2 separate regions of the Homo sapiens genome follow, and region 2 is linked to region 1. The links are contacts of gene promoters, found by promoter capture Hi-C in blood cells and fetal thymus (Javierre and others, 2016). All regions are on one chromosome and are shown on one strand. The core of a region is centred on a gene start or on the middle of the fragment in contact, and the rest is flanking DNA. Distances in the headings are between cores, read along the strand shown. Region 1 holds the start of PADI3 (peptidyl arginine deiminase 3). Region 2 holds the start of NBPF1 (NBPF member 1).

Evidence for each region. The method cuts DNA at HindIII sites, captures the fragments that hold promoters and counts their contacts. A CHiCAGO score of 5 or more calls a contact.
Region 2: a contact is called between a fragment that was not itself captured here and the fragment with the promoter of PADI3 in region 1, in 1 of 17 cell types (neutrophils). The highest score is 6.1, in neutrophils.

The regions. Positions count from the first base shown.
Region 1 is chr1:17,247,302-17,252,918 of GRCh38, forward strand. PADI3 (peptidyl arginine deiminase 3) reads left to right here and starts at 1,797. Exons shown (of 16, transcript NM_016233.2): 1 at 1,797-1,928. The coding sequence starts at 1,837. The HindIII fragment of the contact is 2,587 bases long and covers 1-2,061 here.
Region 2 is chr1:16,613,555-16,619,431 of GRCh38, forward strand. It overlaps NBPF1 (NBPF member 1), which reads right to left and starts at 10. Exons shown (of 18, transcript NM_001405701.2): 1 at 1-10. It also overlaps the pseudogene CROCCP2. RefSeq lists enhancers at 1-811, 4,999-5,667, 5,668-5,877. The HindIII fragment of the contact is 1,059 bases long and covers 3,495-4,553 here.

The DNA of each region.
Region 1 (5,617 bases), core at 547-3,046:
TGACAATCTCAGGGTCCTGTTGAGGCCCTTGAACTGGTGCAGATGTCCCAGCTGGAGATGCTGGGGAGCGGGTCCTGGTCCCCATCCTGTCTCAGGCTGTCAGCACTGCCAGGGAGAAGGGAGGAAACCTCTATTCAGCACCTCCTGAGCCTCCGCCAGGCAGGGTGCGTCTTCACTATTATCTCCGCCAGGGCCAGTGATTAGCTGCATTTTCTACAGATGAGGAAACCGAGTCTCCAAGAGGGGGGACACTGACACCCAAGGCCCTATAGTGGGTGCACGGTGGAGCCTGCCTCTGAACCCAAGACTTCTCTCCCCAGAGCCCTTGCTCCTGCTCTTCCAGGAGCCTGAATGCCCCTCTGACTTCGGTTTCCCACCTGACGACTGAGCTTTCCTACTCTGACATGCCAAGCTCCCCCTGGCTGGAGAGAGTTCTCACCCTCATCATTTACCGCTTTCAGAGGTTTTTGGGACCTAATAACAGCAACAATAGTAATACAATAACGCCAAGCTCCATACCAGAGCTCTACCAACGCTGGCCCCTGAGGCCTCACAGCAACCATTTTTCAGACGAGAAAAGTGAGGCACGAACAATTAAGAAAGTTGCCCGGCCGGGCATGGTGGCTCACGCCTGTAATCCCAGTACTTTGGGAGGCCAAGTCGGGTGGATCAAGAGGTCAGGAGATCGAGACCATCCTGACTAACACGGTGAAACCCCGCCTCTATTAAAAATACAAAAAATTAGCCGGGAGCCGTGGCAGGCGCCTGTAGTCCCAGCTACTCGGGAGGCTGAGGCAGGAGAATGGCGTGAACCCGGGAAGTGGAGCTTGCAGTGAGCCGAGATCACGCCACTGCACTCTAGCCTGGGTGACAGAGCGAAACTCTGTCTCAAAAAAAAAAAAAAAAAGAAACTTGCCCAAGGTCGCCCATCCAGGAAGCAGCTGAGGCAGGGCTGAAACCCAGGTCTGGCTCTAAAATCCATTAAAAAAAAAAAGTTGGTGTTTCTCAAAGGGCACCAAAATGCTTTGGGGGTGCTTATTAAAAAATCCAGAGGGCCGGGTGCTGTGGCTCATGCCTGTAATCCCAGCACTTTGGGAGGCCGAGGTAGGTGGATCACCTGAGGTCTGGAGTTCAAGACCAGCCTGACCAACATGGAAAAACCCCGTCTCTACTAAAAATACAAAATTAGCCGGAAGTGGTGGCACACGCCTATAATCCCAGCTACTCGGGAGGCTGAGGCAGGAGAATTGCTTGAACCTGGGAGGCGAAGGTTGCGGTGAGCCGAGATCGCACCATTGCATTCCAGCCTGGGCAACAAGAGTGAAACTCCGTCTCAAAAAAAAAAAAAAAAATCCAGAGGCCAGGCTGCACCCCTAACCTGCTGGATCAGAGTGGACAACAGACCTGGGAATCCGCATTTTCACCAGCTTCCCCAGCAGAGTAAGAAAGCTCCCCATTATAGTCTCTGAAAATGCAGAAAATGGAGGTGAGGAAGCAAGAAGCGTCCGAGATCAATATCATATATCTCTGCACCCCCTCAACAGCACCTGCCCCCAACAGTTCCTGGTGCCTAGCCAGGTACCTGTGGGGACTTGCTTCCCAAGAAATTAACTTCCTGGGTGCCGGGGTCGGGACAACAGGTTCGTATACAAATACTGGGTCCCTTCCAGCCAATCCTGAGCTCTCAGCTCTGGGAAGGGGCTGGGCTTTCATGACTGGAGCCAATGAATTGGCACCCTGGGCTGGAGGGGTGGGGCCAGGGGCTTTTAAACCTCATCCTAAGGGGCCTCAGGGGCAGTGTTGGGGTTGGCGGCCACAGCTAAGTCCAACACCAGCATGTCGCTGCAGAGAATCGTGCGTGTGTCCCTGGAGCATCCCACCAGCGCGGTGTGTGTGGCTGGCGTGGAGACCCTCGTGGACATTTATGGGTAAGAGTCAGAGGCCTAGTGGTTTGCAGGCCCTTGGTGCTGATGCCCTTGGACCTTCCTCCCTGCAGGCTGGGCAGGGCTTCTTCAGGGCCCACTCCCCAGCCTTGGCCTCGGAACAGCAGCCAATCAGGGAAGCTTGGGTCCTCCTCTTGCTCTACTGAGTTTCCTGAAGACCTTAGCCAGGGAATTTGAAGTTTGGGAGGCTGAGCCAGGTAGAAGAGGCTTCAGTGACTGAGCTCCAGACCGGGGGCTTGGAGGGGGCTGGTGCCGCGAAGAGATGGCACTTTTCTATGTCCAAGGGATGCTGCAGGTTGGGCTGAGGATCTGTCTGGGGCACACAAGAATAGGAACAGGCAGATATCCCCAGCCCCATCCTGAGCCTATGAGCCTAGAAACAGAGCATGAATCATTTTTAAAAAATAAGTTAATACATAGCACTTACCATGTGCCAGGCACTATTCTAAGAGCTTCACAAGTCTCTTGAGTTAAGTTTTGAACTTTAATCTTGAATTTAACCCTTACAACAACCCTGTGAGCTAGGCTTATTATTAGCATCATCTCATCAGACAAATGAGAAAACCGAGGCAGAGAGGGCAAGCCATTTGCTCAAGTCACACAGTTACTAAGTGGCAAAGCCAGGGTTTAAACCCGCTTGTGGTCTTACTCAGGAGTCTTATGGTTTTAGCTGCTCTGATACTTGGAAAATAAAGATTTCCAACCTGGTTTCCTCTAGACACTCAATGCCCATGCATTATGCTCCTACTGTGTGCCAGGTCATGCCTTTGAGGCCCATGGTAGAGGGAGGTAAGGCCTTATCTTCTCTCTCTTAGGAAGAAAAGAGGGTTAGGGTAGGGTTTTAAGAGCTGGGCTCTGGGGACCACCAGGGAGCTGGCTTCTTAGGCTTTTGGGGAGAATCCAGGGTCCTGGCTTGGAGGTAATCAGGATACTGGGAGGGGAGGGTGCAGAACTGTGGGACAGCTCTCACCTCTCAAGTCTCCCAGCCCTCTCCTCAGGCCAGGTTTCTCAACCTCAGCACTGCTGTCACGATACCTCTTTGTCATGGGGGCCACCCTGTGCACTGTAGGATGGAGAGCAGCATTCTGGGCCTCTCTTTGCTAGATACCAGCAGCACACTCCCGAGTTGTGACAACCAAAAATGTCCCCAGACATTGCCAAATGTGCCCTGGGGTGGGAAGAAAATAGCCCACCCATTGAGAACGAGTCTCCAAGACTAAGACTCGAAAAATCAGGGCGAACTTAGTCGGGAGCAGCGATGGGGTTGATCCAGGGCATTGGATGAGAGGGGGTGAGGAGCTGGTCATGGGAGGGAACCAAGTCGGGAGCAGAGCCAGCCCAGGAAATAAATCCTGGTATTGGTGGGTGGGCAGTAGGAGGAGGAAGGGGATTCAGTGGTTCTTGAAGGAAGGGGCAGCCACGGAGGCTGTGCCAAGGAGGTAATGAGGAAGGAGGGGTATCTGCCACTTGGCACCACTGCCTGCCTGCCATGGGGTGACTGGGCTGCGTGCCATGGGGTGACTCACCTGCCCCTGCTGCCTCGTGCCCGTTGGGCAGATGTGTCTCCGGTTTGACCTGTCCCAGGAAGCCTGGGCCTGGCTCCTCCCCCGCAGAGCTTCCTTAGAGGATAGAGGATGGATTGGGGCAATAAGAGATAAAGGCCATAGCTTCCTGGAGTCACCTGAGCCACACTGGAGGTTTGCAGAGAAGGCCATCGGTGGGACAGCCACAGGGTGGGGGATGGAAGCTCTGATACCTTCAAATGAGGGATTCTTGGGCCCTGGTGGCCAAACCCCCCAGGGGTGGGAGTGGAGAGCTCCTAGTTCGTTCATTCACATATTCTTCAAGTATTTCTTTTGGGTCTAGTGTGTGTACCATTCAGAGCCTTGAAGGATGAGCACAGGCTCTGGGGACACATACAGGGGAGAACAAGCAGCTCCTCCTCTCTGAGAAGCCAGCAGAGGCTGGACAACCTTCTTACAAGGGTGCCACAGAAAGGACTCCTTTCTGGGAAGGGGAGCAGGACTGAGTTAGTTCTGAGGTCCCTCCCGGCTTGGAGGTGCCATGATGTAACAATCCTGGGTCCTCAGCCTGCGGGCCAACAAGAGAAAGGGCAGTAGGTGTTGTGGCTCAGTCCTGGCTCTGCAACTTCCCAGCTCTCTGACCGTGGGAAACTCCTTTAACTTCTCTGAGTCTCTGTTTCCTCACCTGTTGCCTGGGGATGATAATAATATCAGCAATGGCACTGAATGCCACTCCCCAGCAGTGCCTGTAAGCGCTTTCCATATGTTAACTAATTCTCACAAAATTCTCAAGTGGGCACTGTCATCATCGTCATTTTATAGATAAGAAAACAAAGGCACAGAGAGGTTAAACAACTTGTCCAAGGTCACATGGCCAGTGAGTGGCAGAGCCAGGATGTAACCCAGTTTGGCCTTACTTCAAAGGGCAGTTAGGGGCATTGAATGAGATTGTGTGTGCAAAGCATGTAACTAATACTGATTTGTGGTGAACATTCAGTTATGTTAACTGTCACCATTATCATCATCATCAGTTTAAGGCTTTGTCCTGGGCCTGTGGACAGCCTCAAGCATCCCCAAACCTGCCATATGCAGGATGTCTGGGGAACAGTCTCTGGACCGTATTGGGAGAAGGAGTTGAGAAAAGAGAAATTTACATCTGACTCATGGCTGAGTCAGGGCAGTCTTCCTGGAGGAGGGGCACCAATCAGACCCTTGAAGGATGAGGACAAGCAAGTCTGTTGGGCCTCTCTATCTGTGGCAGTGGATTCAACTTTATCTTCTTGCCTTTCCATGAATTGGAGATGACCCAGGCATGGTATGGGGGCTTTTCTTTCTTGAGCAGTGAGTCTTAGGATGGGGAAAGGGAAGGAAGGGTACCCTGGTGCACTGAGCCATGCACTGGGCGTCTGGTGGCTGATTAACTCCTCCCTGCAACTGGAGGCAGGCTCAGCGGGATGGTGGTCTGACAAGTGCTATCCCACAGGGCTATAGGGCTTGAACCCAGATCCCATCAAGTTCCACAGCCCAGGTGGTTTGCTTGGTTCCACACAGCTCTTTCTCAAGGCTCAGGCATCAGCACAAACCTTAGCACAAAGTCTTGGTGCAGGAAGAAAGCTGCTTTCTTTTCTTCTTCTTTTTTTTTTTTTTTTGTTGAAGACAGGGTCTCACTCTGTTGCCCAGGCTGGAATACAGTGGTGCAATCTTGGCTTACTGCAGCCTGGACCTCCCCAGGATCAAGCTATCCTCCCGCCTCAGCCTCCCGAGTAGCTGGGACTACAGGCGTGCACCACCATCCCCGACTAAGTTTTGCATGTTTTGTAGAGATGGGGTTTTGCCATGTTGCCCGGGCTGGTCTTGAACTCCTGGGCTCAAGTGATCTGCCTGCCTGAGCCTCCCAAAGTGTTGGGATTACAGGTGAGAGCCACCGTGTCTGGCCCAGTTTCATTCTTAATGGGCAAAATCAAAATCCCAGGATGACCTCTGGTGGGGAGGGCCATCCTCAGGGCCTCTGTCATTGGCCCAGTGGTAAGAACAGACTGGACCCATTCCCACTGGGCTTTCCCATAACATGTGGAGATGCTTCCTGGAGTCTGTTGGGTTGTGGCTGCTCATGTGGCTGAGGGGCCCGCGAAGCTGGTCACCTTTGGGATT
Region 2 (5,877 bases), core at 2,774-5,273, 630 kb before region 1:
CTGCGCCTGCAGCCCACTGGCTCCTCAGGATCCCGATGGGCGTGTCAGGATAACCCAAGGCGCAGGCGCGGCGGGGCCTTAAAGGGACCCGGCGGCCTCTTCTGCACAACGGGTTCGAGCAGGTTAGGGGCCGCGCAGGCGGAGGAAAGGAGTAACCCAGGGGAAGGACCGAGTGCAGCGGGGACGGGGAAATCCCTCTCTCCCCTCCGCCTGTCTTTCAAAGCACCAGCCCTCGACCCTCCAAATCGCTGGTTTCCCCGGCCACTTGAACAGCCCCTGCCAGGTTGAAGAGGCAGGAGACACACCCCCTCTGGGGCTGGAGCGACCCCGCGCTTAGGACTGCAGGCCTCGCGCTGCCGCACCGCCCCGAATCTGACTTCCAGGCACGGGCACGCGGTGCAGTCGGGCAGGCTTCAGAAGAGCCCCCAGCTCTCCCAGAGGTGGCCTTAGGTCACTCTCAAAAAGAATAACCAATGTGTCAATGGCACTTGTAGTTATTTTCTAATTTAAATTTATTAACAGATTTTGCAGATGGGCTTCCACTGAAATAAGCCTTTGAGAAAAAGAAAAACTTTTTTTTTCAACAGGATTAGAATACCAAGAAATAGGAAGTAAAGCCATGCCGTCCACCCAGCTAAAAACTTTGAAAACTTGATATTTTATCTAAGGCAAATGTTTGCATAACTTTAGGTCATGCCATTATTTAAAGTCAATTTCAGTTAACAATTTCATTGCAACTGAATCTATCTTGTATAAGAAAACTAAGATACATCCCTGATAATCTACCTCTCCCCTCCTATACTCCATCCGTCAGCAAATCCTACTGGTTTTTACCTTCCAAATTTTCCTTGAATCTGTCCTCTTCTATCTCCTCCGTCACCACCCTAGTCTAGGCTGCCTTCACCTGGGGAGTGAGGGTCGAGGGACTACTGACCTAGTCTTCTTGTGGTTTACCCATATCCCCTTTATCGCCTCTCTAATCTCAACACAACAGGCAGAGTGGCTTTTCCAAAATATAATGTGACCGTGTCACTTCCCAGCCTAAAGCACTTAAACACCTTCCCATTCTCTTAGACAAAACCTCCTAACTAACCAAGCCCCGAATGGCCAGGCGCCTTGCCCACTTCTTCATCTCTTCTCACTACTCAGACCAATTCTGTTCTGCTCTCTCTGCTCCAGCCAAACTGGCCTCTTTTATTCCCTATTTACCAGCTTCCTGGCCTCCACAGAGCTTTTGCTCATGCTTTGCTCTGTGCCTGGAAAGTTCTTCTAACCCCTATTCTTCTGAGAACAGCTGTAGTCTCCACCTCTGAAAAGCACCTTCTGACCTCCCTATGGTGGTCCCTTACTCCTATCACATTGCATGAAACTGTAATCGGGTGGTTATTTTGGTGAATTTTTTACTATCGGCTACGTAAGCCCAGGGTTTGGTTTTGTTTGCTTCATGATTTGTATTTCCACATTTGTTAAATACATATTTGTTCATAAATGAGAATGATGGATGCTAGAAGTTGAAGTAAATTTGGCATAAAGTCAGAGAAAGAGAAAATGTCACAATCTGACAGTTGGAGTCAGAATGTAGAAACTTCAGTTATATTAAAACTGATTTTATATCGTTTTAGGCTGAGTTGTCTTAGGATGCTTTGGGTAACCTTTAAAACTGAGTTCTCAAAGAGCCTTGTATAAACACCTGAATTAATAATGATAAGCCATGGGGTGGCCCACATAAAACTAATAACATTGGTTGCTTTAAGAGAGGAAGACTGAGCCAGGCACAGTGGCTCATACCTGTAATCCAAGCACTTTGGGAGGCCAAGGCCCGCAGATCATTTGAGCTCAGGAGTTTGAGACTAACCTGGGCAACTTGGTGAGACCCTGTCTCTACATAAAATACAAGCAAAATTAGCCAGGCGTGGTGGCGGGCACCTGTACTCCCAGCTATTTGGGAGGCTGAGGTGGGAGGATTGCTTGAGCTCAGGAGGTTGAGGCTGCAGTGAGCCATGATCATGCCACTGCATTCCAGCCTGGATGACAGAGCAAGATCTTGTCTCAAAGAGAGAGAGAGAGAGAGAGAGAAATGAAGACTGGTGACTGGTGGCTACTGGTGGGAAGGAGATTTTTACTAAATGCCCAAAAGGTTTAAAATTGTAACTTTTTTATTTCAAAGTCTGTGAAGATAAATGACACAAAAGAGCACATACCTTCCCATTTATTTGAAATTCTAGAAAGGGGAAAATTAATCTGTGGTGAAAAAATCATAGCAGTGGTTCCCTCTGGCAGGGGATTGACTGGGAAGTTACATGAGAGAAATTTCTGGGTGGTAAAAATGGTCTCTGTCTTGATAGGGATATGAGTTATATAAGTGTATTCATTTGTCAAAAAACATACAGTTAACATTTCAATGAATGTAAATTTTACCTTAAAAACTATACGAATAAATGCAAATTTAAAATCTGCTAGCTAACACCTAGTTGAGTACTCAGTGTCTATGGGCATTGGCCGAGGCTATACATACACGATTTTCTTTAGTCCTCATACCGTCCTCATGGGGTAGGTATTATTATCATAACCCCCTTGCATATGAAGAAGCCAAAATGCAGTAAATACCAAATAACTTGCCTCGATTTATACCCCTGGAAAATGCGGGAAGAGCTTTAAACACCATCAGTCAAATGCCAGAAGTTGTTAAACATTAGACTCTATAGCACTTCTCTGAAATTATAGTATTTTTGGTATATGTATATATATATATATATATATCATCTACTAGATCAAGAGCTTCACAATGATTGAAATCATAGTTTGTCTTTTTGTTTGAGGTTTATGTTTTTATTTTACTTCATTATTTTAAAGACTGAGTCTCGGCCGGGCACGGTGGCTCATGCCTGTAATCCCAACACTTTGGGAGGCCAAGGTGGGTGGATCACTTGAGGTCAGGAGTTCGAGACCAGCCTGGCCAACATGGTGAAACCCCATCTCTACTAAAAATACAAAATTAGCCAGGTGTGGTGGCACGTGCCTGTAATCCCAGTTACTCAGGAGGCTAAGGCAGGAGAATCGCTTGAACCTGGGAGGTGGAGGTTGCAGTGAGCCAAAATTGTGCCACTGCACTCCAGCCTGGCCGACAGAGTGAGACTCCATCTCAGAGAAAAAAAAAAAAAAGACTGAGTCTCACTATGCTGCCCAGGCTGGACTTGGACTCCTTCATTCAAGCCATCCTCCTGCCTAGGCTTCACCTGGGACTACAGGCCCAATATTTTTGTCTTAAGTTTCTAAGCAGTCCCAAGACTTTGCACAGTAGCTGTTCAATGTATTTTGAGTGAATGATTAAAAACAAGCTTGATGTCGATTTTATTGGTACAATTTATATTTACATATGTAATATTTATATGCTTTTATATATTTATGTGTGCATGTATATAATTGGTACTAACTTAGCACTGCTGTGCCTAAGTGCCTGAGATGCATCTCAAATGAATAGGCCTGAGGAGAGAAGCTTGTGTCATTAGCTCTGACCCTGCAGCACTAATCCTGGTTTACCCCTTTCTTTCAGTCTCCCTGAGCACAATTTATTTGCTGAAAGGCCACATCTCACTATGGAGTGAGGATCAAGAAGTAAAGGTCTGAAAGAGAGAAGCTGCGGGGCTGGGGAGACTGTTGGTCGGAGAGGCGTCGGGGGCCCAAGGAAAAGGGAGGATTGTGGGGAGGAATCGGCGTAGAGATGAGAGGAGCAGCAGAGACAGAGTCTCACGCAGAGGTGTGCCCAGACACCCTGAACCAAGTTACTTAACCTCGTCCACCACCGTGGCACCCGTGGGGTCCGTGGGCCCGTCGGTCTTCCAGGAGGGATTCTGTGTCCCTGTTATTGTGTGTCAACATGTGTTAGCCTGATATTTATATTTTTAATGAGAGAAAACGAACTCTGGAATTTGCGAACTGTTTTTTCGTTTTGCTTTATACCTCTTGGACACTCCTTCCGAAGGATTGGGTCTCAAGGGCAGTGGGGTGTGACTACGGTAGACAGGGCTGATTAATTTTCATCCAAAACTCTTTGGCGGATTCCCCTGCTCTCCGCTTCTCCGGTCTAACAGTAGTTTAAAATAGAAGATCAGCAACATTTGGAGAGTTTTTTTCTTTGCATTTTAATGATAAACTTGATTTATTCCATTCCAAAAGTTTTCTTATTCTGAGGTTGTCTTTCTATATTTTGAGTATAAAACAATGGCCATACTATGTTGGAACCACCAAGGTTCTTCTCTTCACTTGTTCATTTGTAATGTCTCTTTATAATCTGAGAATTTCCTGAGCAAACTGGGAACTGTTATACATAATTCCTTGTTTTTCAACATTCTTTGTAAACAGGAATCAGGATTGGGGATGGGGAGGGAGGGAGGAGTAGGAGTCCTGATTTGTGGAACAGAAAATCATGGATTACTTATGTGATGGAGCAAAGGGTTTAAAAACTCTTAGCATCCCCAGATTTCCCCTTTTACTGTTTGCTGAAGAAAATTCTGTCTTTGACTCCCTTCCTTACCCTCTCCGGGCCTGTGAGAAGCTTCCTCCCTATCCAGTTTATTTCCTCCTCTGCTCCCCGACCCACCCCCCACAGCCCCCTCCTCTTTTTCAGTGAAGCCGCTGGAGGAAAGTCGGGTTTGGGAGAAGACCCACACAGGCAAGGACAGCAGGAGAACACTGACATAGTTACACTCTTGTCACCAGCACTTTTATTAAGACGTGAAAAGACAAAGACAACAGAGGAGAGCAGAGAATAATATCTCTGTTTCAGCTATTCCAGGATGTTATGCCAATTATCCAGAGTCCTTGATCTGATGTAGTAAAGAGCTAGGGACATTTTCCCTGAAGGCTTTGATTGCTGGCAAAATCTCATTAAACGTGTATACATTCATAGGTTGGCCATAGGATGGATAAAAGAAGAGCCTCTGGCCTACATCTGCCACGATACATGTGCAAAAATGCTCTCTGCAGCATTATTTTTCATTGTAAAATAGCAGAACAAATTTATTATTCAATAATTATAAAATGGTCAAATGTATGTGACTATATTTGGACAATGAAAAATGCAGCTGTTAAAAGCAGACAATACTGATGATTCAGATGATGTTACTGATGAAAATAATAACAGATGACAATTATTGAGCATTTATGGCATTCTTACAGGCATTACCTTATTTAAAGTTCAGAACTACCAAGGAAAAGAGTAACTTGTGGCAGGCGTGAGAGGTTCCGAGGCACAAAAGGAAGATAGGCATTCAAGGAACACCAGGATAGAAGACCCAGAGTAGGAGAAGAGAGAGGAAGAGGAGTCCGCCAGATGGGATGCTGGAAACCGCGGGATAGCTCGGTGGAGAGAGGGCGCTCCTGCTCCGCAAGCCTCCCTACGACGGCAGGCCTACCCGGTCCTGCTCCTGCCGGCTCTGGGCATCTGGTTTCTGCCGCTCCATCTCCAGGGAGATGGTGGCCAGGCTGTGCCGTGTACCCATCAACTTCTCTGACAGCGCCATCTTCTCAGACTCCTTCAGAGACAAGGCCTGGGCAGAGGCAGGGGACAAAGGGCTTGGGGGATGGGCTGGTCCTGGGGGCATGCTCAGGCTTCTTGCTGCCTAGGAAATGTGCCCACTGGGGGCTTAGAGGCCTGAGTGTGCCACTGCAGGTGGACCCAGGGCAGACATGCAGCCCTGGAAAAGGGCACAACGGCAGTCACAAGAATCCCGGACGTGGATACCACTCATAGAGCTCACTAACCCGCCACAGCACCCTGACTGCAGAGTCTTTCTTTCTACCCATCTTACAGATGAGGAAACTGAGGCTCAAGGAGGTAAAGTGACTCGCCCAGGTACACAGCTGGTGAGGAGAGGA